Linked DNA regions of Homo sapiens: region 2 is linked to region 1. The links are contacts of gene promoters, found by promoter capture Hi-C in blood cells and fetal thymus (Javierre and others, 2016). All regions are on one chromosome and are shown on one strand. Each heading gives the region's core, a stretch centred on a gene start or on the middle of the fragment in contact. The rest is flanking DNA. Distances are from core to core; before and after follow the strand shown.

Region 1 (3,260 bases), core at 514-3,013:
TATGCCATCTCTCCCACTTAGCTTCTTTCTTGAATGGCTATTCTTTCCTGCCTCTTGAAATCCTTCAAAGCCCAGTTCAGATCTCATTCTTTATTTTACATGTTTCATCACCGCTTAAGTCTACTAAATCCATTTCCAACTTCTCTGAACTTCTTATCATTCCCTTCTTATACCACTCATTTGATGTTATTATGTATGAACTTTTAAAAAATTATATTTGAATTTAAAATGTCTGTGTGAGAAACTAGAGGAAAAACCTAGCACCAAGAATACATAAGCCTTAATTGGGTTGATGGATTATTGATAGATTATTAAGAATTAAGTATATGTGTCCAGGTGTGTGTCCAAGGATGCCTTGACCAAAGACCTGATACATTTTGAAGGCAGAAAGGATGAGGGATTTATAGGGAATTTATTTTGTTTCCTAAACTTCTATATCCTATACCATTGACATCAGTAGTGAGGTGACAATAGGGAAACAGAAAGACCAGGAGGAGAAAGATAAACAGGAAGAAGAGCAGGGCAGAAATTTCCAGTCTTTCTGAGACATATATTTCAAGTGGGCAGCATTCACAGCTGCCTAGGTTTTATTTGAAACTGCTAAGAGGTGCCCTTTAAAAAAATATACCTGGCTGGGCACAGTCACTCATGCCTGTGGTCTCATTGCTTTGGGAGGCCAATGCGGGAGGATCACTTGAGGCCAGAAGTTCAAGACCAGCCTAGGCAACATAGTGAGAATCCATCTCTACAACAACAACAACAACAAAAAGCCAGTTGTGGTGGCATATGCCTATAGTCCCAGCCACTCGGGAGGCTGAGAGGAGAGGATTTCTTGAGCCCAAAAGTCTGAGACTGCAGTGAGCTGTGATCACACAACTGCACTCCATCCTGGGCAACAGAATGAGACTCTGATCCTATATATCTGTATAATATATATGTATATACATATTTAGATACAGATAGATAGATATAGATACACACACACCCAAACTACGAATGTCTAAAATGTCACAATTCATTTGAATTTGGTGTTGATCCCTATTGAATGAAATTACTCTGAGGATACATCCTATTGGTTCATCTCAGTTATACTTTTATCTGCAAGATATTTTTAATTAGAAAGGAGGAGCTTCGGTGAAGAAGGGGAGAAAAAGCACTGAAAAGGAAAGAAAAGACAACAAAACCTAGGGAGAGGGATAGAAAAAGGAATCAGAATTCAGAAAATAGATGTAGGAACCTAAAGGATGCATTTCATCCACTTCAAAGTTTTGCCCAAAAAATGATGCTACCAAGGCCCAACAAATCATGTGCTAGGGACCACCTACCTGTTCCTGTTCAGTTTCTATTCAGATGCTGAGGGCTCTGTTTACCTGGTGACACCCAAAATTCTATGGAGACAACAATGACAACAGAATTACCACAGAGAACTAGAAAATGAAACTCAGCTGAAAAACGGCCACCTAAGATGGAAGAAGCCATGAGATGAGTAAGCGTTGCCTACTCACAAGGTTGCAAACTGTCCTTCACTTACGATTATCCCCCAACGCCCCCTCCTAAATCTGATCAATCGCATGGAACTTGATGGTTACAAAAGACAGAGCTAACAACTAGCGTAAGTGCACCTTCTTCTTTGACATGACCTTGAACTAAGTCCAAATGAGCAATGAACAGCTGAAGTCTCTCAACTGAAAAGATCAGGACAGAGAGTGCTCTCCAAAGCCTGTGACCCACCCATGCCTGCTCTAGGTCACTGTATGAGTCTCTAGCTCTCACATACAGGATTGAAATGCCATAGCTCAGAATTAGTGACAACATAATCTGGCCTTTATTTGCCAATTGCCCCTTATTTCTTACTACCTCACAATACAAATTCTCCCCTCCAACAATGGCTATAATATAGCCATTTTCTGTACTACTTAAGAAATAGAATTATAGACTAATAGACTTGGAAAGAACTTGAAAGATTATCTAATTCAAGATCCTCACTTTACAGACAAGGAAACTAATGAATAGAGAAGAAGAGGACTTCATGAAATCCCCAGAATTAGAAATCTCTCTTTCTCGTCCTTCTCCTTCTAGCTGTAAGGATACTATGCCCATAGCTGAATGTGGGGAAACTAAGCAGTAAGTCCAATTGTAAGAACTAAAAAGAGAAAAGAGTTAGTAGTCCGGCTCAAAGTCCTCTCTGTTCCTTCTGGAGACACAAAGAGGAGGTCACTGAGCTCTGAAAGTCTCAATCCCTCCCTGGGAAATCCTTATCTGTGTCTCTCTAAAGTCTTTAAGGGAAATGGTTTCAGACCAGTCAGGCTCCTTTCTTTATTTCAAGACACAAAGGGAGCTGCTGAACAGGAACAGATGCTGCCTGAGTTGTATATGCTATCTTTAAAAAAGACCCTAAGAGGTGACCTCTGTTGCTTCTACAGCTAGAAGCAGAGCTAGGATTAGGCTGAGGTTAATGAGACACTCACTCTAAGACCAAAATTTAAGAGAGTGCCACAAAACTCAATAATCAAGATAAATAATATTTTAATGCAACAATTTTAGAAAATATTTATTTATTTATTTTTGAGACAGAGTCTTGCTCTGTTGCCCAGGCTGGAGTGCAATGGCATGATCTCGGCTCACTGCAACCTCCACCTCCCAGGTTCAAGCGCTCCTCCTGTGTCAGCTTCCCAAGCAGCTGGGATTACAGGCGTGCACCACCACACCCAACTAACTTTTGTATTTTTAGTGGAGAGGAGGTTTCACCATGTTGGCCAGGCTGATCTCAAACTCCTGACCTCAAGTGTTCCACCTGCCTCAGCCTCCCAAAGTGCTGGGATTACAGGCATGAGCCACCACGCCTGGCCAGAAAATAAATTTAATGCAAAATAATCCCTGATGAACAAATGTTAAAATTTTAAATACCAGGATCTGGCCCTGCACTACGTTTCTCACATAACTCATCTTACCCTGATCCTAGCCTTGTCAGATTGGATCTTCAAAATTTTGTGATAGATATTTTGAGCATCCAAGATTTCTTTTTTTTTTTTTTTGAGACGGAGTCTCACTCTGCCGCCCCGGCTGGAGTGCAGTGGCGCGATCTCGGCTCACTGCAACTCCGCCTCCTGGGTTCACGCCATTCTCTTGCCTCAGCCTCCGGAGTAGCTGGGACTATAGGCGCCCGCCACCACGCCCGGCTAATTTTTTGTATTTTTAGTAGAGACAGGGTTTCACCGTGTTAGCCAGGATGGTCTCGATCTCCTGGCCTCGTGATCCAC
Region 2 (3,260 bases), core at 446-2,945, 94 kb before region 1:
CCTAGGGCTAAGGACTCACACACTTCAGCTCTGGGGACCAAAATGCTGGCTTCAGGAAGCATAATGATTTTAGCCTCGATACAGTGATGGCATAATCAATCAAGTTGTATCCTGCCTCTTTTCTCTCACCTAAATTTGATTTGTGTGATTATTTATTGCAGACAGTTTTGCAAGCTGACTTTAATCCTATCTTGGAATGAGGTGGAGTATAAAAGAATACAAATCAACAAACATGCTAATGTATTTTAAGAAGGAGATAGGAGAGTTTGGAAATTGGAAAGGGAAATTCTAAATTTTGAGAATTGCTTTCTACTAAACCATCATTGTCCAGGAGTAACACACTAGCTCACTTCTTAATTTCAAGTCAGAAACATTTTCCCAAGCTTATCCTGGCCCGAAGGAACTGTGACGCTGCTGACCACTGATGCTCACCAAGCAATCATCTCTTTGAGGTTTGGTCTCCCACTTGAGTCAGGGAGAGAATGTATGGGGCAGGTTTATTTTCACTGCACATATTTTTCAATGTAGATCTTGTTCATAGTTTTAACTGGGGATTGGTTGGTGTGAGTAACTCGCATGAAACTGAAAAATGCGCTGGACACAGTGGTTCATGCCTGTAATCCCAGCACTTTGGGAGGCTGAGGCAGGCAGATCACCTGAGGTCAGGAGTTCAAGATGACCCTGGCCAAAATGGTGAAACCCCATGTCTACTAAAAATACAAAAATTAGCCAGGTGTGGTGGCGGGTGCCTGTAATCCCAGCTACTTGGGAGGCTGAGGCAGGAGAAGCTTGAACTCGGGAGGTGGTGGTTGCAGTGAGCCGAGATCACGCCACTGCACTCCAGCCTGGGCGACAAGAGTGAGACTCCATCTCAAAAAAAAAGAAACTGAAAAACTCAGATAAGATCAAGTTTGCACCTGTAAGTTGTGGATAGGATCCAATGTATCTTGGATAATTGTGCAGCCTCCACCTCCTGAAACCCTTTCTGGGTGTCCATCTGGTTTTTTTGGACATGGTCCCCCAGATACATTTGCTAAGTTACAACTATATCTTAACAAATATTTATAGGGACCTATGGGGGCTGGGAATAATAAAAAGGGTCTAATAGGTTGGGCAACCCCATCTCTACATCTCTACAAAAAATTAAAACATTAGCTGGATATGGTGGTGCCCACCTGTACTCCCAGCTACCTGGGAAGGAATTTTTAAAATTTTATTTAAAAAAAGGAAAGAAAAAAGAACCCATGATGATCAAAAGATTAGAAGCTACCAGTTTAGCTGGTACATCTTCTTCAGACTTTAGTGGTTTTGTCATTTGGATTGAACGCAGTTCCCACTGAAACTTATTTGGCCACTATCTGAAGTTGAAATATCACACAGTGACAATTGTTTGAAAATTTCAGCTCCCCTTCTCCTGCCTCCTCTTCATCTCTAAGTATTTTCACTCCCATCTACTCATGGCAGTATCTGGCCACTGCCCATTCTCAGACCAGAAAGGGATCAGGAAAAGGCCAGTGTGTGGGGTGAGGCTGACTTCCAACAGTTGAGCTAGTACAGAGCCACTGAGCATTTCCCTCCCTAGGGCTCACTCTTCCTCAAAACTGCTAGTGTCTTGCAGATCCTCTCTCAAAACAAAAGAGGAAGTCAGAGGTGGAGCAGGGAGTGGTTTGAACTACTGGTTTTACTGGAAAAGGATTCCTGTTCCAAACCTCAAGAGCAAGTTCTTCGATCTTGAGCAGGAAAGAATTAAGGACAGGGCGCAGAGTACAGTATAGTTAAAACAGTTCATTAGAAACTACTCTATTACAGAGTAGGGCATCCTCAGAGAGCAAGAGGAGGAATGCCCCTACTTTAAATGTAATGCTTGCTTATACAGGATATTAAGGTTAAGAATAGTTTACTTTGGGAGTCCGAGGTGGGTGGATCACGAGGTCAGGAGATCAAGACCATCCTGGCTAACACGGTGAAACCCCATCTCCACTAAAAATACAAAAAATTAGCCGGGCATGGTGGTGGGCACCTGTAGTCCCAGCTACTCGGGAGGCTAAGGCAGGAGAATGGCATGAATCCGGGTGGCGGAGCTTGCAGTGAACCGAGATTGCGCCACTGCACTTCAGTCTGGGCAACAGAGCCAGACTCCATCTCAAAAAAAAAAAAAAAAAAAAAAAAAAGAATAGTTTACTTTATTATAAAGGCTTGTGATCAAGTTGTGACAGGCTATTAGTATTGTTATTCTCCGGTGTAACTATTGATTTCAGCAATAATTTATGAGTGTAGTATTATCTTTAAAGTGAAACCCATGTTTATTTTTATGTGTTTATTTGCTTACACCTTCACCACCACAAGAAACCCTCCCACCCACCTTTTTTTTTAAGACAGAATTTCACTCTTGTCGCCCAGGCTGGAGTGCAGTGGTGCGATCTTGGCTCACTGTAGCCTCCACCTCCTTGACTCGATCCTCTTTGATCCTCTGGATTCTCTCACCTCAGTCTCCATGCCCAGCTAATTTTTATTTTTATTTTTTTATAGAGATAGGATTCTACCATGTTGCCTGTCACGTGTGTCCGTGTGAAGAGACCACCAACGGGCTTTGTGTGAGCAATAAAGCTTTTTAATTACCTGGGTGCAGGCGGACTGAGTCCAAAAAAGGAGTCAGCAAAGGGAGATGGGGTGGGGCTGTTTTATAGGATTTGGGTAGGTAGTGGAAAATTACAGTCAAAGGGGATTGTTCTCTGGCGGGCAGGGGTGGGGGTCACAAGGTGCTCAGTAGGGGAGCTTCTGAGCCAGGAGAAGGAATTTCACAAGGTAATGTCATCAGTTAAGGAAGGAATCGACTGTTTTCACTTCTTTTGTGATTCTTCAGTTGCTTCAGGCCATCCGGATACTTACACGTGCAAGCTTGGGCTCAGACGCCTGACATTGCCCATGGCTGGTTTGAACTCCTGAGATCAAGCAATCTAACTGCCTTGGCCTCCTGAAGTGCTGGGATTACAGGTGTGAGCCACCATGCCATCCAAGAAACCCATTTTTAAACTAAGAATGCCTTTTTCCATCAACTCATTTCCTCAACCATAAACATTTTGTGATTAACAGTGCCCAATTTCCTGGGAAAGTAACCCAGCAGGTTTGGCTTCATCTGGCCTTTATTCAAGATGAGTCACTCTGATTGGGACACCTCGAATACTGGTGCAAATACCCAAAATGAAACAAAACTGCCTGAACTTACTCATTACCCCCTTCCTTACAAAGCCAGCAGACTT

What was found. The method cuts DNA at HindIII sites, captures the fragments that hold promoters and counts their contacts. A CHiCAGO score of 5 or more calls a contact.
Region 2: a fragment that was not itself captured here is called in contact with the fragment with the promoter of RNASE11 in region 1 in 1 of 17 cell types (M2 macrophages); the score reaches 5.2 in M2 macrophages.

What each region holds. Positions count from the first base shown.
Region 1 is chr14:20,586,238-20,589,497 of GRCh38, forward strand. RNASE11 (ribonuclease A family member 11 (inactive)) reads right to left here and starts at 1,764. Exons shown (of 3, transcript NM_001394190.1): 1 at 1,623-1,764; 2 at 1,326-1,388. RNASE11-AS1 (RNASE11 and RNASE12 antisense RNA 1) reads left to right here and starts at 1,987. Exons shown (of 5, transcript NR_122043.1): 1 at 1,987-2,081. The HindIII fragment of the contact is 10,143 bases long and covers 1-3,260 here.
Region 2 is chr14:20,492,220-20,495,479 of GRCh38, forward strand. No RefSeq gene overlaps it. Among named protein-coding and RNA genes, the nearest start is that of RNASE10, 12 kb to the right of the region's middle. The HindIII fragment of the contact is 1,819 bases long and covers 787-2,605 here.